Linked DNA regions of Homo sapiens: all the other regions are linked to region 3. Evidence: promoter capture Hi-C in 16 types of primary human blood cells and fetal thymus (Javierre and others, 2016). All regions are on one chromosome and are shown on one strand. The core of a region is centred on a gene start or on the middle of the fragment in contact, and the rest is flanking DNA. Distances in the headings are between cores, read along the strand shown. Region 1 has its middle 79 kb from the start of WIPF1. Region 2 has its middle 48 kb from the start of CHRNA1. Region 3 holds the start of GPR155 (G protein-coupled receptor 155). Region 4 has its middle 61 kb from the start of WIPF1. Region 5 has its middle 31 kb from the start of WIPF1. Region 6 has its middle 64 kb from the start of CHRNA1.

Region 1 (4,215 bases), core at 1,639-4,138, 190 kb after region 3:
TTTGTATTTTGTAAGTTTCTGTTTTTCCCATTAAAACATTTATATTTCCTGAGACAATTTCTTAAATAATGCACTTTTAGAAGAGGAAAATTGGAATTGAAAGGTCTACATTTACTTTACTATAAACAGAAATCAAGTGTTTTGTTTTATTTCAATACAGAACAATTAAGCTCTGTAAGTCCAGCCATGAACTTTTCTTTTTCAGTTCTAGAAGACAAATCATATGTATTATGATTAAGAAATTACAAAATTAAGCAAAAGACAGGTAAGAATAAATCAAATAAGTGAATTTTTTTAATGTAGAGACAGTGACAAGTGCTCCCTAAAGAAAACTTGAAACAAAACAGGAAAAAAGAGATCATAAAGTTTATACTTCTAAAATGAATTATGCTGGCAAAGATATGGGGAAACAGATATTTTCAAATAGTGTCAGTGAGACTGTGAATTACTACAGCTTTTGGAAAGTAATACTCCTTTAGAGACTCTGACAGACAGAAATAAAAAAGCTTCTGTAAGTTGGCAGGTTCAAATACACACACACACACACACACACACACACACACACACACACACACAGATGTTCCAGGAAGAATGGTTGTAGTAGAAGAAAACTTGACACAATATGAACAGTTAAATTGTGGAATATTAAGCAGCCATGCCATAAGTGAGTTTTTTATTCTGGAGAGAATGTCTATGATGCTTTATTATATTAAACGCAATTGTGGCATAATGTATTAATAAGTAATATAATTCTATTTTTAGGAGAAAAAACTATATATGTGCATATATACTTATACATAGTTATATAAGCAAGGAGAAAGTTCAGGAATTGATAATATTGATTACTTCAAAGGGTTAGTATTTAAGGGAGATAGGAGAAATTTATTAACTTTATATATTTCCATTTTCTTGTCTTCTTTATAGCAAGTACATATGCTTTTGTAATCTGAATAAATTTACAACTACAATGTAATTTTTATTTTTATCTACTTATTTTTTTTTAGAGACAGGTCTCGCTCTGTCATCCATGCTGGAGTGCAGTGGCATGATCATAGCTTACTATAACCTTAAACTCCTGGGCTCAAGTGATCCTCCCGCCTCAGCTTCCCAAGTAGCAAGGACTACAGGCATATGCCACCATGCCTGGCTAATTTTTATTTTTTGTAGAGACAGAGTCTGCTATGTTGCCCAAGCTGGTCTCGATCTCCTGGGTTCAAGTGATCCTCCTGCCTCAGCTTCTCAAAGTGCTGGGATTACAGGTGTGAGCCACCATGCTTGGTCAACAGTACAATATAATTTTTAAAGAGTGATAAAGAGTCATATTTTCAGCAAAAACATAGAAGCAAAGACTATAAATTACAAATACTGAGCACCTGGACTTGTGGTTAACAAAAACCTTTTCCAAGTTCTAAGAGACAATACGTTGTTTTTGCTTGTTTCCTCTGTGTGTGGGGTGGAGGCGGGGGTGTGAGGGGAGGAGTGGGAGGGTGGGCCGTAAGAGTTGGGAGGATGGGCATGAAGGCGTGGGGAAGAGATGTTACCCGATTTCTTTTTTTTTTTTTTGCTTTCATTTTATTTATTTATTTATTTTTGAGACAGAGTCTCACTCTATCACCCAGGCTGGAGTGCAGTGGCATGATCATGGCTCACTTGCAGCCTCCATCTCCCAGGCACAAGCGATCCTCCCACCTCAGCCTCCTGAGTAACTGGGCTACAGGCACATACAGCCACCATGCCTGGCTTTTTTTTTTTTCTTTTTGGTATTTTTTGTAGAGACTGGGTCCCACTATGTTGCCCAGGCTGCTCTCAAACTCCTGGGCTCAGCCATAGCACCTGGCTGCTTTTATTATTTTTAAGAAACATATAATAATTGTACATATTTATAGGATACAGTGTGATATCCCTCCCTCCCTCCCTCCCTTCCTTCCTTCCTCCCTCCCTTCTTTTTTTTTTTTTTTTTTTTTTTTGACAGGGTCTCACTCTGTTGCCCAGGATGGAGTGCAGTGGTGTAATCACAGTTCCACTTCCCTAGGCTTGAGTGATCCACCTCAGTCTCCTGAGTAGCTGGGACTACAGGTGTGCACCACGACGTCCAGCTAATTTTTGTATTTTGTGTAGAGATGGGGTTTTGCCATGCTGCTCAGGCTGTTCTTGAACTCCTGGACTCAAGCCATCCTCTCACCTTGGCCTCCCAAAGTGCTGGGGTTACAGGAGTGAGCCACCACACCCGGTCTTGCTTAGACTTCTTTCTAGGTTTTATCCTCTTCTCAGCCAAAGCAAGGGATGCAAAACTCCTGGGCAAAAGAGTTGAACTTCATTTATGTGGAAGTGAATCAGATACAGGTATTAGACCAGGAAATATCACTTCTTAGGTTCTACAATAATAACTTCTACTTTCCCCACAAGAACAAAACTTCCCACTTCTTAATTATTAGAATCATGGTTATTTTTTAATTTGGAACACATAAAAAGCTAATTATGTATAAGAATTTTAAAATGTCACATTGTGGCCAGGTATAATGGCTCACACCTGTAATCCCAGCCCTTTGGGAGGCAAGGCGGGAAGATCGCTTGAGCCCAGGAATTCAAGACCAAAGGGAGACCCCATTTCCACAAAAAACAAAACAAAACAAAACAAGGCACGGTGGTGCACACCTGTTATCCGAGCTTACTTGGGAGGCTAAGGTAGGAGGATCATTTGGGCCTGGGAAGTCGAGGCTGCAGCGAACTGATGGCACCACTGCACTCCAGCCTAGGTGACAGAGTGAGAAACTGTCTCAAAAAAAAAAAAGTCATCTTATATACATCACTTATCGTAAAGGACCACTCTTAGGATCAAATTTGTTTCTTGGCATCTTCAGAAACAAGATACTCTTCTGCAAAACAAAGATCTGTTTGGCTTTCATGAAAAATTCACTCAAATCTTACAGAGTGGAATAAATAAACCATCCTTTAACAAACATTGACAACCTACTATACAAGAATCTACTGTTTTGAGAAAATACAAAAGGATTTTTTAAAAAGTGATTGTCTTGAAAGAGCTTACAATCTAACAAGGAAGAAGAGATGCCTGCAAGTGACTGCAATACAGGATAGGGTGAATTTCAAGCCACATGTGAAGCCCAGAACAATAGCGATGGAAACTAAGAGAAGGCAGAATCAGCAAATGGAGAAGAGAACATTTTGGCTCTTGTTAAGAAGCATGTTCTTACAACGTGAACCATGCTTATCAAAGCTCCTAAACTAGTGAAATTTGTAGGTAATTGTGTCTCCTGTTAATTTTAGCACATTCTTCTTTTACTGAGTATCAGCAAAGTCTATTATTTCGACTTTTCAGCAAGCAATGATGATCAATCTGAAGATTCTTATAGCGTTCAACAAACAAATGAAGAGAAGGGGCAGTGTGGAGAGGAGGAATGGCAATGCAACAGCATACGAAAGGAAAGTGCAGTTTAGCTGGAACCCAGTATATGAAAAGTAGTGCATAATAAGGCTGATGTTGAAATTAAAGGTTAAAGGTGCGATGCTTGGAATCAGACTGCTCCACATTTGAATACTAGCTCTGTCACTAACTGTGGGACCTTGGGCAAGTTACCTAAGTTCTCTAAGCCTCAGGTTCCACATAAATAAACAGAACTTACCTCTCAGGGTAAGTGAATATCAAATGACTCAAATAACATACAGTAAGTGATAATGTTACAGAAAGGGAAAGAGGGAGAGAGAATAAAAGGAAGAAAGAAAGGAAAGAAAGATATTTTTAAATGTTTGGGCCAGATCATAGAAAGTTTTGAAGATTTCATTCACTTAAATTAATGTAATTGAGAGAGAAAAGGAAATTAAAAGAAGAAATTTAGTTATGCTGGAAAGATGGCTTATTAGAAGAAGAAAAATATATATACCCATAGTAAGCAATGCTAAAATGTTACATAGCAACATATTCCTTCAATGTGAACCCTGCTTATCAAGGCTAACAAACATTGTAGCTAATTGTATCTCCTGTTTAGCTACATTTTTATTTTATTGACTATTAGCATAGTCTATTATTTTTGACTTCTCAACAAATATTTGTGACCTGCAATCTCTGTAATGCTGAGCATGCTTCCTAGGACTCAAAAGTTTCTGATCCCTGGCCACGAGAAGAAGCAGTGGTACCCTCACCCCATGGCGTGGGTGCTGTAGTTGTGACCAAAGCAGCCTGGCCTGGGGCCAAGTGTT
Region 2 (3,995 bases), core at 1,483-3,982, 230 kb after region 3:
GGCAGGACCCTTGCTTCAGCAGTTTTCTTACCAGGCAAAATTCCTGCCCTTACAGGGTGTGCACTCTAATGGGGAGAGAAAGGCAGTGGAAAACAAGTTAGTAAATTGTACAGTAAATGAGAAGTGGGGAGAGAAGAGTCCAGCAAGGAGGGCTGAGAGGAGGCAGGAGGGTGCACAGGCCTCACTGAGTTTCCTCTGGGTTTGTGCCCAGCCTGGCAGCTCCTCCTCCTGTGTGCTGGCCCCTATCCCTTCCTCACGGGGACTGGACTCTCTGCACCCCTCCTTCCTTTGTCTCCCTAGCTAGAACTGGTGCCTGACTTGGTCTCCATGACCCTGGGGGCTCCAGGGGAAGAGTCAACCTGGACTGAGTCTTAGGAGGTGCAACTGGAGGTGGGACAGGGCTGTGTGGCTGGGGGTGTTGAGGGGCTGGGACGGGAAGCTGGAAGGAAAGTGGTGTGAGGTGGGCCAGGGGGTGATGTCTCCTTCCTGAGCCATCTCTGTCTAGTCTAGGAGTTTGCACTTGATCTGTGGGTGATGCAGACAACTGCAGAATCCTGAGAATCGTGGTCACTTGTGCATTTTAAAAAATGATGGGGTGGGTGTGGTGACTCACGCCTGTAATCCCAGCACTTTGGGAGGCTAAGCTGGGAGGATCACTTGAGCCCAGGAGTCCAAGATCAGCCTGAGCAACATAGTGAGACCCCATCTCTAAAAAAAAAAAAAAAAAATAGCCAAGCGTGGTGGCATGCACCTGTAGTCCTAGCTGCTTGGGAGGATCACTTGAGTCCAGGAGATTGAGGCTGCAGTGAGCTATGATCCTGCCACTGCACTCCAGCCTGGCTGACACAGCAAGAGCTTGTCTAAAAAAAAAAAAAAGAAAGAAAGGAAAAAAAGATGGCAGTAATAGGACCCCTCTTAGAGCTGCTAAGGAACTTATATCAGTTGCGTTTGTAAAACCTGGTACATGGTGAGCACTAGTAAGGATTGCTAAATGTAGTAATATCATTCTATTCAATTTTATAGTCCTCATTTTTAATTAGTTCAGCTTTGTCTAGCAGCACGATGTGTTTTGGAAACTTGTTTTACTGTTATTGCTGCTACTAATAGTACAGTTTTATCTAATATAAGACGGAAAAGAATAATCAATTTTTATTTCCATTAACTACAGAGCCAAATGGTTGGATATAGTTTTTCTAAGAAAAATTAAGTTTAGCTGTAGCAAGGAGTATGTTTGCTATTGGTTTATATGTCAATGTACTTAGCAATTTGACATTTCCTTACTGGGAGATAAGTTTGTATCTTGAGTATAAAGACTTCACAGGTAAATAAGTCCAGTGCACTCATTTTAAAATTAATAGTAACTTCAGTAATTAATACATTTGAAAAAATAAAAGTTTGCATTTTAATGCCTGTCATCAGGTTCCTCTAGGTTATACTCTACATGCTATGAAATATAAAAAAGAAAGACTCGTGAATGGCGTGTTTCAGATGGTATAACTGTAATAATGTTTTCAAGTCAATATTTGTGTTGGTATGATTGAGGTTTTTTGTTTGTTTGTTTTTGAGACAGGGTCTTGCTCTGTTACCCAGGCTGGAGTGCAGTGGCATGACCATGGCTCATTGCAGCCTTGACCTCCCAGGCCCAAGAGATCTGCTTACCTCAGCCTTCCAAGTAGCTGGGACCAAGCGTGTGCCACCATGCCCGGCTAATTTTTTTTTTTAATTCTTTTAGTATAGACAAGGTCTCACTAGGTTGCCAAGGCTGGTCTTGAACTCTTGGCCTCAAGCAATTCTCCCAGCCTCAGCCTCTCAAGGTGCTGGGGTTACAGGTGTGAGCCACTGTGCCTGGCTGAGGTTTTATAGCATTCACTAAATATTAACCTTTAAGAATGTCTTTATATTTAAAAACACAAGATTTTTAGGGGTTATAACTGAATCTGTGTTTGTATATTATTGTACAGATAATTGTGTTTGATGATGTAATTTGTTGCATGAACTTGGACTGCCTTAACATCTTAAGTGTTAGAGGAGACCCAAACTTACACAGGGCAGGATGTGGGGGAAGTTACAGACAGGGGTGGTTCTTGAGATGAGAACTAGCAAGGTCCCTCGAGTGAAGACTGGCATGTTGGCCTTTTGCCTGGGAGAGCAGGGACTTGGATCCTGAGGCTTTGCTGCAGGAAGCTTGAACACACAGGGAGGAGGCAGTTCCCAGTGGGCCGATATGCACCCCTTGTACACAGTGTTGACACTGACGCTTGCATTAGCAGACAGATCCTGGATGGTGTTACTATTAACAGCTTCCATTGACCAACCTGCACTTTACAGGTAGCCTGGGACTTGCCTGATTTGAGCCCTGGAATTTCAGCAACCTAGGAGCCCTTCTTTGTCCCCAGAAGTCCCGACCCAGATGGTTGGTCACCCCATGTACAGGGTTTTAAATGTTTAAACATTGCACCTTAATTTTCACGGGGCGGGGGCTAGTGTGCTATCCCATTCTTCAGGCGGAAATGGAAGCCTAGGGTCCCCACGTTACTGCCCTGCTTGGGCTCCACCTTGGGAAGGAGGTGGAGCAGTTAATGGTTCTTTTCAAAGGTGGACAGCAGCGAGCATGGAATGACAAGCAAGTGCTACGTTTTAGATTGGGGCAAGGCTGACTAAACTGCACTGTGGTTGTACAGAACTTCAGTGGAGTGTTGTGGTTGACCACAAATTGAAATTAAATCAGCAACATAGTGATTTTCTTTTTCAAGGAAGACTAAAATAACTTCCTGCTAACTTAGTTGGTTCTTGCTGTACTTCACCATTGTAAGCCAGTGAGGTCTTTATATTAAAGTATTTCATTGTCCTTTGGGATTAGCTTCCAGGAGGTGGGGAGAAGTTTAGGAAAGCGAGCACAATTACGAGGAGGCTGGAGGGGCACTGCTTTAGGGGTGGAGGGTAGGATTATAGGTGACAATGCCAATGATCTTTCCATATGGAACTAAATTAATTTATGTAGGATTCATGATCCCTTCAAAAACATATTCATGACTAACCTGGTTCATGAAAAGAGGCAATTTTTTTAATGTTCTAGAAAAAATTCTAACTACTGTATTAGCTATCTATTGCTATGAATTAAACAACCTCAAAACTTAGTGGCTTACAATGACGATAAATATGTATTATCCCACACAGTTTCCATGGGTCAGGAATTTGGAAGTGGCTTGGTTTGGGTACATCTGTCCCAGGATGGCTCATGTGGTTGCAGTCAGGATGTTGCCCAGATCTGCAGTCATCAGAAAGCTTGATAGGGGCTGGAGGGTCTGCTTCCAAGATGAGTCACCCACGTGGCCGCAGGCAGGAGGCCTCCATTTCTCACCATCAGGGCCTCTCCACAGGGCTGTTTGAGTGTCCTCACATCATGGCTGCCAGCTTTCCATGGAATGAGTGATCCAAGAGAACAGGAACTATCCTAGCTTCAAAAGCCACACTCCATCACTTCCAGTTTCCTAAGGGCTACAGATGTCAGTTCAGTGAGGAGAGGATGACACAGGTGCAAATATCAAGTAGGCCTTACCCACCTGGCCTCACTCATCTGGCATTAAACTTCTGTTTTTAATATCCTGGCATTACCAACCTGGCTTACCCACCTGGCCTTAATTCCTTGGTTTTACTTACCTGGACTCATTAAACTCTTGGCCTGAACCTCTTGGGTTCACCCACCCAATGTTATCTACGTGGCTTTATTCACCAGGCCTTAACACACTGTGTAACCTCCTGGCCTTACTCATTTGTCCTTACCCAATTGGCTTATCCAGCTGGTCTTACACACCTAGCCTTAACCTTTTGACCTTACTCACCTGATGTTGACTACCTAGCTTTATTCAGCTGGCCTTAATCTCCTGACCTTAGTCTTAACTTCATGTTTTTCTCCACCTGGCCACATTCACCTGGTTTTACTCATCTGGAATTAACCTCCTGGACTTAACTTTTGGTATGTTACCCCCTAACCA
Region 3 (4,335 bases), core at 447-2,946:
ACGCCTGTAATCCCAGCACTCTGGGAGGTCGAGGCGGGCGGATCACCTGAGGTCGGGAGTTGGAGACCAGCCTGGCCAGCATGGTGAAACCCTGTCTCTACTAAAAAGACAAAAATTAGCCGGGCTTGGTGGCAGATGCCTGTAATCCCAGCTACTCGGGAAGCTGAGGCAGGAGAATCTCTTGCACCCGGGAGGCAGAGGTTGCAGTGAGCCGAGATCCTGCCATTGCCCTCCAGCCTGAGCAACAGAGCAAGACTCCGTCTCAAGAAAAAAAAAAAAAAAAAGCAATCTGCCCCTCCCCATGAGGTTTCTTTTAACGTTTCTCAGTATTATAAAAGAAATACCTGCTGAGGTAAAGTCAAAATAATCAAAATGACTTTAAAAGTTTCATTTCATCCTAATCTTTTTTAAACGGGAAGATAATATGCTTTCTAAAGCATATTTTAAAATGAACAGGAACCACAGCAAGGGAAGTTTTAAAAAAAAAATTACATCCAGCCTTTTTATCTATAAAAACAAAGCTTGTTACAGAACAAACACGTTCACAGTAAAAGACCACTCGCTGAGGCACGAACTGAAGAAATGCTACTGTACTTACAAACCGCTTCTAGCCACATCACATTTGGCTTAGATCACATAAACGAACCACTGATACTGTAAATAACTGCTATTAAGTGAAAATGCGGGGGGAAGGCGAGGGTTGACTAACTTCATAGAGAAAGCTTTAAACTCTCAGGCTATTTCTCAAACATCCAACATCCTTTATCCCGTGGGATAAGTGTAATACAGTGTGGTACTATTAGAGCACTCTTCAACATTAATAGTCGCACCATTCACCCACTCCTACCTACTTGCAGGGCGCCAAATGTCCTCCCTAGAGACCCAGGGTAGGGAGCGCTGAGCACTGCCTCCTTGCCTCGTCTGCAGGGACAGACTGTGGCCCTCCAAGATAAGGGGCGCAGAGAGTTCCTAACCGAATAGGCTGCTCGGAGAGCAGCTGCCAGCCAACCCCTGGGAAGGCAGCTGTGGAAGTGGAAAGGCAGCCAGGGGTCTTTGCCTGGCGTAAGAAAAAGGTGGTCGCTAGTCTTCCCAGGGCACGGGAGTCACAACGTCATGGTAACTAACATACCCCAAAAACGGGTAAGGGAGAAAATTTGGCGCAGTGCTCCAGGTGCCTGGGCAGAAGCCTTCGGAAGGGCCAGATACTGAGGGTACCCTCGGGATAAAGGGAAGAGTCTAAGAAAGACAGGGTGGACGCCCGTGCAGTGAGGAGCTTCCCAAACTAGGGATGGCAGTTCTGTCTCCGGAGGGGACGAGACACCCCCTCCCCCGCGCGAGCCTTCCCGGGTGATCTCACACGTTCCACAGGCAGGCGCTGCGGGGCAGAGACAGCAGGTCCAGACAACGGGCCGCGGGGCCAGGGCGCAGAGGGTCGGCGGCTGCCCACGTGCCCAGGCCTGAGGGGCAGAGGCAGGGGTACCCCGTGCCCGCAAGGGAGAACCAGGACCCAGCAGGTCCGCGCTCCAGGGGCCCCTCTCACCTGCTTCGTCTGCAACCTTGGAGTGGCGAGGAGAAGGGAGCTGGTGCTCGCAGGGTGCCAAGCAGGGAGAAGACCACCGTCATCTCCCGCCCCCAGCCCTCTTCGCCGAGCGCAACCGGGTGCCAGCTGCAGCAGCTTAGGCACGTTCCGATAAAGTAAGGTGGGGTAAGCCGATGCGGCCCTGTCAGCTCAGCCCCTCGCCGGCCGCGAGGCCCCGCCCCCGCCCCGCCTTCAGGCCCCGCTCCCTCCCAGCCCCGCCTTCAGACCCCGCCCCCAGCCCCGAACTTCCAGCAAGACGGGCCGCTTCCCGCCCTCGAGCCCCGCCCATTTCCAGGAGCCTTGAGCCCAGAGTCTCCGTCCCGCCCTCAGGCCCCACCCACAGCCTCGGGCCTCCGAGCCACACGTTCCCCAACCCCGCCTTCAGTCCCCGCCCCCTCCTCCAGCCTCGGAGCCCCAGGGTACCCGGCCCCGCCCTGCCGGCTGGGAGCCTCCCAGCCGCGATCCTCCGGGGCGGGACTTCCGGCTTCCCTGCTCCCACAAAATGGTAGCCGCCGTGGGGGATGTCCAGTTTTTTTTCCTCTTCCCAAGTACAGACGCAGAGCAGACTTGTCTTTCCGCTTAACCTCAACCTCGTGTGATCTGCCAGTTTCGCTCCCGGTTAGCCCAGGACTTTTTATAGCATAGAGTTTTAAAGCAAGGGCTTAGAATCAGACCTGGGTCAAAATCCTGCCTTCCACCTTCACCAAGGCAGTGTGACCTTGACGTTCCTACATAAGAGATTAAAATGTAAACCCTTAGCCCTGAGCTTGTTTTAGAATCTGGGCCCCGTCCATGACTGCTTCTATTCTATTGCGGTACGGGGGTGGGGTGGGGGTGGGGAACTACATGCATGTCCACTCAGTATACTGAAACTGGTTACATTGATGGAAAACTTCCAAAGCTTCTTGAAATAAAGGTATTGAAACTATCCTCACAGGGTTTATAAGAATTCTGGACAAAAATATAATTAAGCATTAATCAGGCTACACTTTGACCCACTTCCTTGTAACCCGAAAGTCGGGTAGAGCTAGATAGTACATTTGTATCCCGTTGTCCCTATAGATAGGCTTTCTGATGTTAAGAGTCGTAAGGCTTTTTAAGAATTGCTTAAAATGTTTTTCAGACGCCAAATTCCAGCGAAACAGCTGATGCCAGCCAGCTTGAAGACCCCTGCCACAGAAGAAGGGAATCAGCATGAGAATACAGCTTCTTCATCTCGCTGTCCCATGACTTCGCCCTGTACTCTTCAGCCAATTAATGATCTCCACACTTGGGACCACTCTAAAACCCTTAAGAACCTGAGACTCAAAGTCCTCCTGGAGACGAATTTGAGGTTTCCTCCTATCTGTGTTTGGTGGCCCTATGATTAAACCTCTTTCTCTTCTGCAACCTGGTGTCCCAGTGTATTAACTTGCCATGGGCATCAGACAACAAACCTATATATAGTATCCCAAATATGGTGCTCCACTTTGAAACCTGAAGAAATCCTGCAATTGAGTTAGCCTTTTGAAATAAAAATTATTTCAAATTTTAAAATATTTATATATGTTTCCACTTAAGATATCTACAAGCATTTGTTTACAACCTTTTATCTTGCTTTGCATCTTAAACATTTCTGTATGGCAATTTCCGTGTCTTCCTATCATCTCGGCCATCTTAGTGCAAAGATACAAAATTGTGTGGCTTATTAAGAAAAATTACAGTAAGCTAAGGGTAGGTTAAAGGATCTGAAACTTAGCAGGAAAAATGAGCAGAAATTAAAGCTATAAAAGGCATGGATCCTGCTCCAGTTCTCTTTGCTTCTCCTTTGTTCTCTGTCTTCCTCACTTTTAACTGCCTTCTTTGTTTCCCTTGAACCTGACTACTTAAAAAAAAAATTGAAGATCTAAATTATCTCAAGGCTAAAAGGATTTTTGTTTAGGAAGTATGAAGATTAATTCAATTAAATAAATACTTATTGAGCATTGACTATCAGGGGAATACTGGAAGATAGGCCTGCAGAGGTAAGTTACGGTCAACCTGTAGGAGGTTCCTTGGGTTAGTTTGAACCTTATCCTTTGGCCACAGTAAAACATGTAACTTTTCTTTCCCCACAGGAACATGTCAGAATGATCACACTATTTGTGGGTGTGTAATCTGGAAGCTGTACCATGATTAGTTGAAAGAGAGACTGAAGGCAAGAAAAACAGTGTGGTGACTTGGAGAAGAACCAAGACATAAGGAAATGAAGACCTACTCTTGGGTGATGACAGTAAAAATAATGGAATAGGCCTGAGAGACAGGAAAAGGGAGAACTGATGAGACTCAGTTACTGATAGGGCTAAAGAGGAGGAAGGACAGGGCAAGGTGGCTCACGCCTGTAATCCCAGCACTTTGGGAGGCAAGGCAGGAAGATCACTTGAGCCCAGGAATTCAAGACCAGCCTGAGCAACATGACAAAACCCCATCTCTACAAAAAATACAAAAATTAGGCTGGGCGCAGTGGCCCAGGCCTGTAATCCCAGCACTTTGGGAGGCCGAGGTGGGTGGATCACCTGAGGTCAGGAGTTCGAGACCAGCCTGGCCAACATGGTGAAACCCCATCTCTACTAAAAATACAAAAATTAGCCGGGCGTGGTGGTGTGCGCCTGTAATCCCAGCTACTTGGGAGGCTGAGACAGGAGAATCGCTTGAACCCGGGAGGCAGAGGTTGCAGTGAGCTGAGATCGTGCCATTGCACTCCAGCCTGGTGACAGAGCAAAACTTGGTCTTTAAAA
Region 4 (4,072 bases), core at 135-2,634, 170 kb after region 3:
GCGAAGTATCTGTCTTTTGTAAAAAACCATAAAACAAAATGCCAAGAATATTTTCTAACGTATTATACTGGACTAATGCTTTGAAATTTCTGAATGATGTTTAGTAGGTAAAATTATCAATGTATGTCTAGAATAGCATGCCTCTTAAACCTACCTCCAATTAATAAATTTTATGTGATAGATATTTAAAGTAAAGAAGTGAATTCAGGAACAAGCCAGCGGCTTGAATGCTGCATGCTTGGGAAGGGAAAAATCAGCTCCCAGGGTTTTCAAAGCTCCAGAACTAAGTGACAGAAAAGGGGCCTGCAGCATTAATGTCGATGTCCTGTCCACTAGTGAAACTGAACATGAACTCCTTTCAAACATGGCTGAGAATAAAAGCTAGACTTAAAAAAATCAGAAGGCTGGGTACAGTGGCTCACGCCTGTAATCCTGGCACTTTGGGAGGCCAAAGCAGGTGGATAACCTGAGGTCAGGAGTTTGAGACCAGCCTGACCAACATGGTGAAACCCCATCTCTACTAAAAAAAATAAAAAATAAAAAAATAAAAAATTAGCTGGGCGTGGTGGTGCATGCCTGTAATTCCAGCTACTCGGGAGGCTGGGGCAGGAGAATTGCTTGAACCTGGGAGGTAGAGGTTGCGGTGAGCCAAGATTGTGCCATTGCACTTCGGCCTGGACAACAAGAGCGAAACTCTGTCTCAAAAAAAAAAAAAAAAAAAAAAAAGAGAGAGAGAAATATTTCCTATTCTTTTTTTTCTCCCTAGATAAAAGTGCTCTTTGACTAGATGCCCCCTCGGATGTTCCCTGGGACCTAGAAACCCTAGAGAATGAAAAACTTATTCTTTAACTTTTCTTCTTCTGTGGAGTAACTTCTGGTGGAGGCATTAGGCTGTGGGGAGAGGACAGGATGCACAGGCAGGGAAAATGAGCCAGGAACCCAATTCTCGCCTTCTAGGAGAGAGAAGAAGCTGGCCTAGGAGCAGCGGGTTTCTGCAACAAAAGGAACCTGAGAGATTATCATGGTCAACCCAATAACCTCACACCCACACAAAAAAAGAGACCTATGCTTTGTCTGTAGTACAGATGAACACTTGTTCTGCTCATACGCCAGCCACTAGGCTGAACCCTTTCACATAATTTTATTTAGTAGATATTTAATTGGGTGAGTAGATGAATGATAAAAGTGAGCAAGTAACATCTAGAGAAGACCCAAGTCCATTACTGATACAGGTGGGCCTGGAATTCAGCAGGGCAAGGTGAGAAACAGGATGGAGAGGGTCATGGCTGAGCCTTAGGGAGAAGGGAAACAAGGCTCCTAGCAAAGACTGAGTTCATGCCACTGCTCCAAGCCCTGTAATGATTTGCCCAAGTGACTTGGAATCATAGTGAAGTTAATTAAATGCAACAAGCTCACATAGAATGAAATTGTGCAGAATCTCATGAGCATCCCATTTCCTTGAAATGGGTAAAACAGTGTGAGGCAGCTTAGAGAAAGTGCAGGGTTGTTCAGACCATGTTCTATAGCGGGATGGTCTGGTGGAGCCCCCCACAGAAGGCAGGTACACCCCACAGCATCCAGCAAAGCCTTGTTTCTGCTTGAAAAAAATGAGTTCTACACTTACAAAAAACATACACAAAATGAAAACTATGGGAATAGTAGAAAGATGACTGAAAAGGATCCCGCAGACATGAATGTGAATTGCAGTCCCACCACCACCTACCAGATGTCCTCGGACAAGTCATTTCAGCCCTTAAGCCTCTGTTTCAATATCTGGAAAATGGAGATAATATCTACTGTACACAGACATTTTTGAGGATCTAGTAAGATAAATTATGTAAAACACTGAAATTATTTGCAGATTCAGGTTTTAGGAAATATAAAATGTAAATCTTTTAATAAAGCCATTCCTCAGAAAGTCAACAGGTAGTTTCTCTTTTTCATAGATGAGGTCTTGCTATGTTGCCCAGGCTGGTCTTGAATTCCTGGTCTCAAGCAATCCTCCTACCTCAGCCTCCTGAGTGTGAGTAGCAAGGACTACAGACATGAGCCACCACACTCAGCTCTCAACAGCTACTTTCAATGGAGGCTCAGTTTTCTGTTTCCTGTTTCCTGTTTGTGTATTAACAAAATCCATGGGTGTCTCAAGGAGAAGCATTATTTAAAGAATATAGTGCATGGGACAATTTCATCAACACTCCAAAAGCAAGCTAGATAGGGGTGATCCTGCTGGGACTCTAAAAATCTACCTCTAGGGTTTAGCGAGTAATGGTATACGAGTGCTCAACTCACAGGAAACAGATCAAAAACTCCAAGTTCCATGTTGGTGGCTTCTAGGTGAGGATGCAGACCACTGCTTATGTAGGGAAGGTTGACAGAGGATCATAGTTTCAGGACTGGAAGGGACTCCGGATTATCAACATTATTTTGCTAATGAGGAAACTGAGAACTTGGGGTAGGAGATGACTCATCCAGGATCACATTAGTGATTACAGAACTCAGTCGTTCATTGAGCACCTTTCCACTGCACTAAGGTTGACTAAAAGCAGACAGACTTCTAAAACCTAACGATTTCCCATCCATAATTTATCTGCGTATAGTAAGTTTAACTTTCCTATATTCCACTTGAACACATCTTCAGAAGGCATTCCAAGCAGTGCCTTTCCACCGTGGCCTGGGAGTAGGGTCAAGCACATCCTCGTTTGCCCAGGACAGTCCTCATTTATGCTTGTCACTCCAGCGTAATTATTAATAGTGCGCCCTTGCCTCTCACCAGTACCTGGATGTGGATGGTAATTTATACAGTACTCTTTGTGCTTTTCTGGGAGAAACAGAGAGATCCAGGGTAGAACTGCTCCCCAAGAGCTTGGCAAGGTGGTTTGGAACCAGGAGAGATGTGATAACTGTCTTCAAATATTTACAGGTCTGTCCTATGTTAGTAAAATTAGGCCATTCTGTGGCTATCAGGATTAGAACACAGACTACCATGTGGAAACCACAGTGGGTGGAATTCTTCTTCGCTATAAAGAAGTGTATTCTAAACAGACTCCAGGGCCAGACTGCCTGGGTCCAAACCCCGGTCCTGCCATTTACTAGCTCCGTGACCCTAAGCAGGTTGCCTAAATTTTTTGTGCTTCAGTTTCTCCATCTGTAAAATAATAATAATTTTAAAAGGCAGCAAGATACATAGTAGGTGCTCTATAAACATTTGCTGCTACTATTACTACTGACTGTTACTTGGCAGGTAGTCAACATTCCCAGGGCAGAGATTTTCACATCTGCACCAGGACAGGACAGCTGGGTTCACCCTAGGGAGGGGGGAACAGGGAGCACTGGCTCAGCTGATGCTGGAGACACCAACCTAATGGAGAATGTGTTGGGTCTCGGGGGAAACAGTTCCACCCTATCTGCTCACTGCTTGAGGCACAGTGTGTCAGCAGGGAGGTACTGCACTGATGGCAGTACAGTGGTTGATGTAAGTGTATGAGGGTGGACTGGATCAGACCGTCTGCCTTTAATCTTGGCTCAACCATGTTCTAGCTATGGACTGGAGTTGCTTACTCACTCTGTGCCTCAGTTTCCTCCACTCTAAAAGAAGGTTACCAGCAGTGCCACTCTCACAGCATTGTCAAGAGGACTGAGTGCAATACAAATAAAGCCTGGGACAGAAAAAGTGCATGATAAATACTGTTATTACGATCACGCAACAACCACTGATGCCTAGGGCTGGTGCTGGAAAGCACCTGACGGAGGCTGGAACTGAAGTCAAGAGGGGCGAGGGGCATGTCCAAGGCCTCACAGCCTAGAAGGCATCTCAATATCTTCCCTGCATTGCACTGCAGTCCGGCTCACAGCAGACTGATTCACCCATCCTTTGAATCCCAAGGCATAGCTGATCAGTTGGTGCTGGGGCTGCAGAAGTGACCTGCACTAGGACAGCTGCAACAGGGAGGCCAGCGTGCAGCAGGTAGACCTGCCTGAGGGGCAGCCTGACCGGGCAGGCAGGTGTGAGGCCATGAGGTCAGAGCTGGGTGGAGATGGGATTGACGCAAGGGTGATTTTATTAAAAACA
Region 5 (3,919 bases), core at 518-3,017, 140 kb after region 3:
TATCTCCCCTCCACCCCAAATTGCTGTACTCACAGCCCGCCCCATCTCAGTCTGATGGCATTTCTATTCTTACTACACTTAGGCCACTTCCTATTTTCCTTAACTCCTCTCTTTTGCTTATTATTTTTCAATCCAACTGCCAATCTTGCTGGTTCTACCTTCAAAATAACCAGACTCTAATTACTCCTCAACATCTTTACTGCTAACCCTTGTCCATGGCACCAGCATGTCTCACTGGAGTATTTCAATAGCCTCCTAACTGGTCCTTCTCTTCCACTCTTGTGCTCCCACAGTCTATTCTCAATACAGTGGCCAAAGGGAGCTGTTAAATTTAAAGTCAGATCATTGTCTCTTTTTGGATCAAAATCCTCCCCTCACTCCCAGACTCTGGGGGGAAAGCCAGAGTCCTACCATGACCAACATGGCCCTCCAGGATCTCACCTCCAAATTACTGGCTCCATGTTACTCCTTGAATACTCCAGGCATGTTCCGCTTCTGCGTCCTCAGGCTTTCCCCATGTGGCTACATGGTGAATTATCTCACCATTTTCTCCATGACAGCTGCCCTTACCAGCTCACCTACACCCATCCTCCACCACTGTGCTCTGCTCCTCCTAGCCCCGCTAGACTTCTTTCTCCACAGCATGTATCCCTTCTAAATTCCTAATATACATCACCTAGTATTTTTTAGATTTATTGTTTTTTGTCCACATCTTTTAACTTGAATATAAGATCCACATGGAAGATACTTAATAAATAAATCTGAATTAAGGGAAAATGCCAAACAAGAAAAACAAAGAGAAAAAACTTTGAAAACATCCAGTGTCCAAAAAAAGGTCTTATGATTTTCTTTTCTTTTTCTTTTCTTCTTTCCTTCTTTCTTTCCTTTCTCTTTCTTTCCTTTCTTTCTTCCTTTCTCTTTCTTTCTCTCTTTTTCCCTCCCTTCCTTCCTCCCTTCCTTCCTTCCTTCCCTCCCTCCTTCTCTCTTTCTTTCTCTTTCTTTTTTTTTTTTGAGACAGTCTTCCTCTGTTACCCAGGCTGGAGTGCAGTGGTGTGATCATGGCTCACTGCAGCCTTGACCTTGACCTGCTGGGCTCAAGTGATCCCCCTGCCTCAGCCTCCTGATTAGCTGGAACCACAGGTGAATGCCACCAAACCTGGCTAATTTTTAATTTTTTGTAGAGATGGGGTCTTCCTACGTTGCCCAGGCTGGTCTCGAACTCCTGGCTCAAGCAATCCTCAAGGCCATCTCGGCCTCCTAGAGTCCTGGGATTACATGCATGAGACATCACACCTGGCCAGGCCTTGTGATTTCTAATAGCAGGACCCATGTATTACATCTCATTTTTTAATTTTAATAATGTTTGTGGCATTTTGAAGAGGAGCAACAACAAAGTAAGCCTGACACTTAGGAGAGGCTGCTGTTTACCCTGAAAAGACCCCTAAGAGTGGCATTCTTGGGGAGGGGTAGAACACTACATCAAGCACAGAGCGTTATCATAGAGGTCCCCACATCTCCCTTTTATCTGGGAGCCAGAGGGATCAGACTCAGAATGTCTGAGTAAAAATTCACAAGAGGCTGCTGGGCACCCCGGAATCTACAAAAAAATGCCATTTCTTTCCAGTGACCATGTCCATTGTCCAGAATATACCTTTCTGAGCTAATGGTACCCAGGAAGTTGACTTAGCATTCAGAATGTGGTTCAGGGGTGTTGGAATCAGTGCTAAGGATGGCTAACCCTTCTGAGGACTGCTTAATCCATGCCGTGGTGAGCCCTGATAATGCATCACAACAGACACTTCACAAAAGATCTTCATCCATACTTACCAATCCACACTCATGTCCACAAGATTCAGGACCTATTTTCCAGGCCAATACTGGGCAACCATTGGAAATTTTTCCTCTCTGCTCCATGAGGACCAGTTCATTGCCCACAACCTTTCTCCAGGTAGGATGGATTAGCTTTCTACCCACAAAATTCCAACCATATGGCTGTGCTGTCTTCCAGGAATTACGTAGAGCTCACTTTGCTGGAGTTCTGGAAGTTCCTCAAATCTTCAATCTGTTACTCTACTCCCATTAGGCACAGATCTGGCCTCTGTAGATCCCAGAGGTGCACCTACTTTCAGATTCCCAAGTCCTTGGGGCCCTTCAACATTTCCCCCTTATGTCACCAGTGTGTAGCCAGGGGCCTTGTTCTGCACCCTCTACCATCATTAATGAGCTACTTTGACCATAGACAAATCACCTAATCTCTCTGGGCCTTAGTTTCCAAATCTAAAAATAAAAGGATATAACTCTCTAAGGTCCCTTCTAGTTGTAAAAAATCCAAGATTATTTTTTTCCTACCTCTTTAAGATTTAAATGATGACAACAGCATCTTTCCTAAACTTTTCCTGAGGCCAGATGTTCCTGGCACTGAAGTAGAGGAAAAAAATAGTTTTTGAATAACCTAACATTTTTGCCTTTTAGAGAAAATTATCCTCTGGCCTTTTTAGTTCCCCTTCCCTTACAGCTACCTCCTTATGGACCCTTAAAGGAAGTCTTTAAAACATAGAGAGGCTGAGGCAGGAGAATTGCTTGAGCCTAGGGGTTCGAGACTGCAGTGTGCCATGACTGTACCTGTGAATAGCAACTGCACTCCAGATGGAGTTCGGCAACATAGTGAGTCTCTCTCTATCAAAAAAAAGTAAACTATTTATCCTTCCTGATTCATCAGGATCTTATAAAAAACATTGTTATTTTCCAAATTATTTTTCTTACATAAAACCTCTTAAACAGTTTTATTCTGATAACTATGCTCATCAGCCTTGACTTTCCTCTGTTTTGCAGGGAAGGCTATTAAATGCTCTGGGGAAGAGGAATAAAAAGCTCAGAGACAGGGCCAGGGAAGGAAGCATGCTGTCCATGTAGGTAAATTCTGCCCTGAGCTTTCACAAGGTGATGGGCATGAAATGGCAGAGGCGAAAGTAGGGAGTGGAGAGAAGGGGAAAAGAAGAGGGAAGAAGAGAAAGTCTGAAAGCATATATTGTTTGCTTAGAAAAAAGTTTTAGGAGAGGTCTGGTGGCAGTTCAAGAATGTTCACTTAGTTAGATGACTTCTAAACTGGGACTTGCCTAAGAAGCCACACTGCAGGGAGGAGGCGGAGGTGGAACAGCAGTTCTCTTCCTTTAGCAGCCCTCCATCTAGCCTTCCGCGTAGCAGGCTGGTGAGGTATTGAGCAGCCCCTCTATTGGCCCCGCACCCAGTTTTCAGAAGTTAAGTTCATTCTACAGGTCTCTAAATGCTTCAAGGACGACCAAATCTATCCATTGTTGGCCTGGAAATCAAAGAAGACATTCCAAATCTTCACCATTCAGTAAAGCAGTGACTTACTGAAAGAATTACAGTTTACTAGCAAACCCCCCAAATGAATCTCTATGTATAATACATGCATAACTTCCTAGTCTGAAGATAGCAGTATTCCAAATAATTGTAGGCTCCAAGATATCACTTAGTGACTTCTAATTTAGGAAACATATGCTCTAGAGAATTCCTCCCATTATACACACACACATACACACACGTATATTTGTGTGTGCGAACACATATCCTACTATAACAAATGACTCTGTTTTTAAGCCACTCTAGGTTACAAAACAATACAATGAGTTAACTTAAAATATGTCATATTAAAATCTGGGCATGAACGCAACTAGAAAGGAAGCCTAATTCATACCAGAAAATATCAAAACAAAGTCTGGTAAGTGTCTAGCTAGTTAGACAGTCTCAAAGCAGTAGCTTCTCATTAGCATTGAGAAATAACAATCTGAGTGGTAATGTGAATACCTACTGTGGAACTGGTACTGGATGTTGTATAAGCTGGGAACAGATGCCTCTTAAATTCAGTTTGTTGCACTATGACAGGGTTCTACTTCAA
Region 6 (3,904 bases), core at 981-3,480, 210 kb after region 3:
GATTTTTACCTTATAACAGTTCTGTTGAATTTCACCCTGGCAATGTAGACTAATATAATAGCTGATCTTCACAGGTGCTAGACAGAAAGTCATCCCTTTGCTTACTGGAGACAAATGCATATCTGATTGCTTCCTCTGCCCTGCTGTCTATGTAAAAATGCAGATTCACTGAGCCAGACTCAGTGGAAGGCTGATCAAGGACTCAAAAGAATGCAACCTTTTGTCTCTTATCTACCTATGGCCTGGAAGACACCCCTCCCACCCCAGCCCGCCCCTCCTTCTAGTTGTCCCGCTTTACTGGACTGAACCAATATACATCTTACGCATATTGATTGATGTCTCATGTCTCCCTAAAATATATAAAAGCAAGCTGTACCCAACCACCTTGGGCATATGGTGTCAGGACCACCGAGGCTGTGTCACGGGCGCATCCTTAACTTTGGCAAAGTAAATTTCTAAATTGGTTGAGGCCTGTCTCAGATATTTTGGATTCACAGCAGCAACAAAACAATAGCTACATACTCCACTTTTGATGGTTATGCATACAAAGAGGTCAAATACAGTTCTTCATTGGAACCCTTTTTAAGCTATTAATAGCTGTGGGGATCTGTTGCTTTTTTATTTGTTTGAATTAAATTAAATGGAACAAATACGCATTTGAATATGAACTGGACTAATGCTGAACGAGGGACTGCAGGGAAACTGAGACTGGATGACCCTGGGCTGCTGCCCTCAAAGGAGTTATTATCCAGGAAGGGTTACAAGACAAGAAAACAACTGGCTGCAACCAAGGGGAGGCAGGGGGAACAGGCCTGAGCTGGACTTAGTCGTAGGGTAGGGGTGGGAGATGAGAAGAGGAAGGGGGCAGTTTGAGGAGGCACAGGTCACCGTTGACAGGGGACCAGCATTATGAGAAGAAGTGGCATTAGATGGACCAGAGCGTGTGAGCAATTTGGGGCCTGCAGCTGTGTCATCACCCTAATGTCCCTAGTTCCTGGCAGCCAGTGAATGCTCAACAAATGTTGGAAAAATTAATTAAATAAAAATGAATGGCAGTGGATGTGCTATTAGAATCAAGAGTTGGCCAAGCGTGGTGGCTCACACCTGGAATTCCAGCACATTGCAGGGCTGAGGAAGGCGGACCCCTTGAGCTGAGGAATTCAAGACCAGCCTGGGCAACATAGGGAGACCCCGTCTCTACAAAAAATACAAAAATTAACCAGGCATGGTGGCACGTACTTGTAGCCCCAGCTACTCAGGAGGCTCAGGTGGGAGGATCTGCTTGAGCCCAGAAGGTTGAGGCTGGAGTGAGCCATGATCATGCCAAGGCACACGAGCCTGGGCGACAGAACGAGACTTTGTCTCAAAAAGATTAAAATAAATTAAAATAAAATAGCGTAAAATAAAAAAAGTTACTGAGCACTATGCTTTTCTTGGACTTAAAATTACTGGGAAAAGCTCTCAGTTTTGGAGTGTTAATGTGCATGAAGGGATGCTTCCCCATACTTTAATTAAGTGTCTGTAGTACTTACTGTTCAACACAAGAGGGAGCTGCTGCCCAGTTTATTCAACTAAAATATTTCTGTATGTTTGCTCCATTTCTTCTCAAACTACGGTATAGTATACTGTGCTATCTAACCACCCTCCCCAAATATAGCCCACCAACCAAAAATTCCCATCACAACTCAACAAAAGTATTATCAGCAGTACCTTATTTTCCAAAATGAATTTCTCCTAAATTATATGATTAGTAGGGGAAAAAAGATAATATTTTAAATGTCTTAGGAACAGATACTCGAGGCCAGTCTGGAGTGTTCTTCAGATCCTTAAATAAACCCAGGATTTTCCAGTGATGAAAGCTGTGCTTATAAAAATGCCTTGGGACCTCATGAGGGCAGCAAGGCCAATTCAAGGGTCATTTCCGAGTGCCCAGGTTTTCATGAGGGTCAAAGTCTCCCTGAGATATTGGCTGAGTCCAGGCCTCAGACATAGAATGTGCAATTTATTTTGCAAAGAGCTGCAAAGAATAGACTATGAAGTAGCCAAAATTCAGGTGTGCCTTGAATCAAGATCATCTGACATACCTATCAGAACTTAGGGGAAAAAATAAGCAAATTAATAATTTAATTAATTTTTCCAACATTTGTTGAGCATTCATTGGCTAGGGACATTAGGGTGATGACACATCTGCAGGCCCCAAATTGCTCGCATGGTCTGGTGATTTTGAAAATCATATTTTCAAAAATATGATTTTTGAAAATTTCTTGCTTTACTAAAGGATTCTCTTCAGAAATTTTTCCATAGCAAACTCCCTAGTATTGTACATTAAAAAAACTTCAATTACCAAAATCGAATCTGCATACTATTGTTCAGAGTCACCATTTCTAGCAAATAAAGGGTGCTGTTATCATCTAAAAACAGCCCACTATAAATGCCAGTGTATAGTTCATTCAAATGTGGGAGGTCGCATTACTAAGGTAAACAGAGATCAGTGTGTCTTTAGTGATCTGAGAATGAAATCAAGAAAAGAAAGAGCTTAAAGTGAGAGAACATTTTCCCAAATCACAGTCAAATTCAGTCTTTGTTAAGGAATCTATTTTTCATCTTGAAGAATGAAAACAATTCCTTTGGTCTCCCTAGAATGGTATCATTATTAATGATTCTTTTTGGAACAAGTCACAGCTGTCTGTGATCCCCATTGGCCAGACAGACCCTCCCATGTCTGGATGTCCATGTTTATGTATCACCTTCTCTCCCTTCTATTGATGTCTCATACTCTTCACTTCCTGGGGGCGAGGACCATGCCTTCTTGACTTCTATGTGACCAACAGAGCCTAGTGCAGGCTGGTGGTGAGCAGTTCATTCGTGTTTAGAAAAAATCACAGCCAGGCCAGGCGTGGTGGCTCATGCTTGTAATCTCAGCACTTTGGGAGGCCGAGGCGGTGGATCACCTGAGTTCAGGAGTTTGAGACCAGTCTGACCAACATGGTGAGCCCCTGTCTCTACTAAAAACACAAAAATCAGCTGGGCGTGGTGGCGGGCGCCTGTAATCCCAGCTACTCAGGAGGCTGAGGCAGAAGAATCGCTTGAACCCGGGAGGCGGAGGTTGCAGTGAGCCAAGATCGTGCCACTGCACTCCAGCCTGGGTGACAGAGCGAGACACTGTCTGGAAAAAAAAAAAAAAAAAAAAACACAGCCGAGGGGAGAGTGACTGATAAATAAAGGATGAAGAAAATGGGACGTTTCATACTCGTACTTAAAGGTTGTGTGTTTTTGTTTGTTTCTGTTGGTTGGTTGGCAAATTTTAATTCTCTGCTCAAGAGGTAGCAGAGAGTGTTGAGGAGTATGGACTCAGACGTCTTGAGTTCAAATCCCAGCTCTGCCACATCTATCTGTGTAGTCTTGGGCAAGAGTCTTGTCTTTGCCATGTCTCAGTTTCTTCATCAATAGCATGAAGCTGCTGCTGCTGCTGCTAAGACTTTCCACATGGGGTTTGTAATTTATAAAGTACTCAAAACAGTGTCTGACACAAAGTTAATACTATTAGTATTTATAAAACAGAATAATTATATTTAATGGGATGTAGTCAAGTGTACTTTGATTCATTAAAAGCCAAACAGGCCGGGCGCGGTGGCTCATGCCTATAATCCCAGCACTTTGGGAGACCCAGGCAGGTGGATCACCTGAGGTCAGGAGCTCAAGACCAGCCTGGTCAACATGGTGAAACCCAGTCTTTACTAAAAATACAAAAATTAACTGGGCATGGTGGTGGGTGCCTGTAATCCCAGCTACTCAGGAGACTGAGGCAGGAGAAAATCGTTTGAATCCGGGTTGGGGAGGTTGCAGTGAGCCGAGATCGTGCCACTGCACTCCAGCCTGGGCGACAGAGCGAGACATTGTCTCA

The links. The method cuts DNA at HindIII sites, captures the fragments that hold promoters and counts their contacts. A CHiCAGO score of 5 or more calls a contact.
Region 1: a fragment that was not itself captured here is called in contact with the fragment with the promoter of GPR155 in region 3 in 5 of 17 cell types (total CD8 T cells, naive B cells, non-activated CD4 T cells and 2 more); the score reaches 7.6 in total CD8 T cells.
Region 2: a fragment that was not itself captured here is called in contact with the fragment with the promoter of GPR155 in region 3 in 1 of 17 cell types (total CD8 T cells); the score reaches 5.6 in total CD8 T cells.
Region 4: a fragment that was not itself captured here is called in contact with the fragment with the promoter of GPR155 in region 3 in 1 of 17 cell types (total B cells); the score reaches 7.1 in total B cells.
Region 5: a contact is called between a fragment that was not itself captured here and the fragment with the promoter of GPR155 in region 3, in 8 of 17 cell types (non-activated CD4 T cells, naive CD4 T cells, total CD8 T cells and 5 more). The highest score is 11.4, in non-activated CD4 T cells.
Region 6: a fragment that was not itself captured here is called in contact with the fragment with the promoter of GPR155 in region 3 in 9 of 17 cell types (naive B cells, total B cells, total CD8 T cells and 6 more); the score reaches 9.6 in naive B cells.

Annotation. Positions count from the first base shown.
Region 1 is chr2:174,674,373-174,678,587 of GRCh38, forward strand. It overlaps a transcript of WIPF1 not described here. Among named protein-coding and RNA genes, the nearest start is that of WIPF1, 79 kb to the left of the region's middle. The HindIII fragment of the contact is 4,768 bases long and covers 505-4,215 here.
Region 2 is chr2:174,714,825-174,718,819 of GRCh38, forward strand. No RefSeq gene overlaps it. Among named protein-coding and RNA genes, the nearest start is that of CHRNA1, 48 kb to the right of the region's middle. The HindIII fragment of the contact is 1,101 bases long and covers 2,183-3,283 here.
Region 3 is chr2:174,485,333-174,489,667 of GRCh38, forward strand. It overlaps GPR155 (G protein-coupled receptor 155), which reads right to left and starts at 1,697. Exons shown (of 16, transcript NM_152529.7): 1 at 1,541-1,697. It overlaps GPR155-DT (GPR155 divergent transcript), which reads left to right and starts at 2,056. Exons shown (of 3, transcript NR_183819.1): 1 at 2,056-2,084; 2 at 2,703-3,582; 3 at 3,676-4,335. RefSeq lists silencers at 1,212-1,394, 1,658-1,837 and an enhancer at 1,248-1,317. The HindIII fragment of the contact is 1,758 bases long and covers 721-2,478 here.
Region 4 is chr2:174,657,209-174,661,280 of GRCh38, forward strand. It overlaps a transcript of WIPF1 not described here. Among named protein-coding and RNA genes, the nearest start is that of WIPF1, 61 kb to the left of the region's middle. The HindIII fragment of the contact is 8,270 bases long and covers 1-4,072 here.
Region 5 is chr2:174,626,550-174,630,468 of GRCh38, forward strand. It overlaps a transcript of WIPF1 not described here. Among named protein-coding and RNA genes, the nearest start is that of WIPF1, 31 kb to the left of the region's middle. The HindIII fragment of the contact is 4,377 bases long and covers 1-3,919 here.
Region 6 is chr2:174,698,634-174,702,537 of GRCh38, forward strand. No RefSeq gene overlaps it. Among named protein-coding and RNA genes, the nearest start is that of CHRNA1, 64 kb to the right of the region's middle. The HindIII fragment of the contact is 6,385 bases long and covers 1-3,904 here.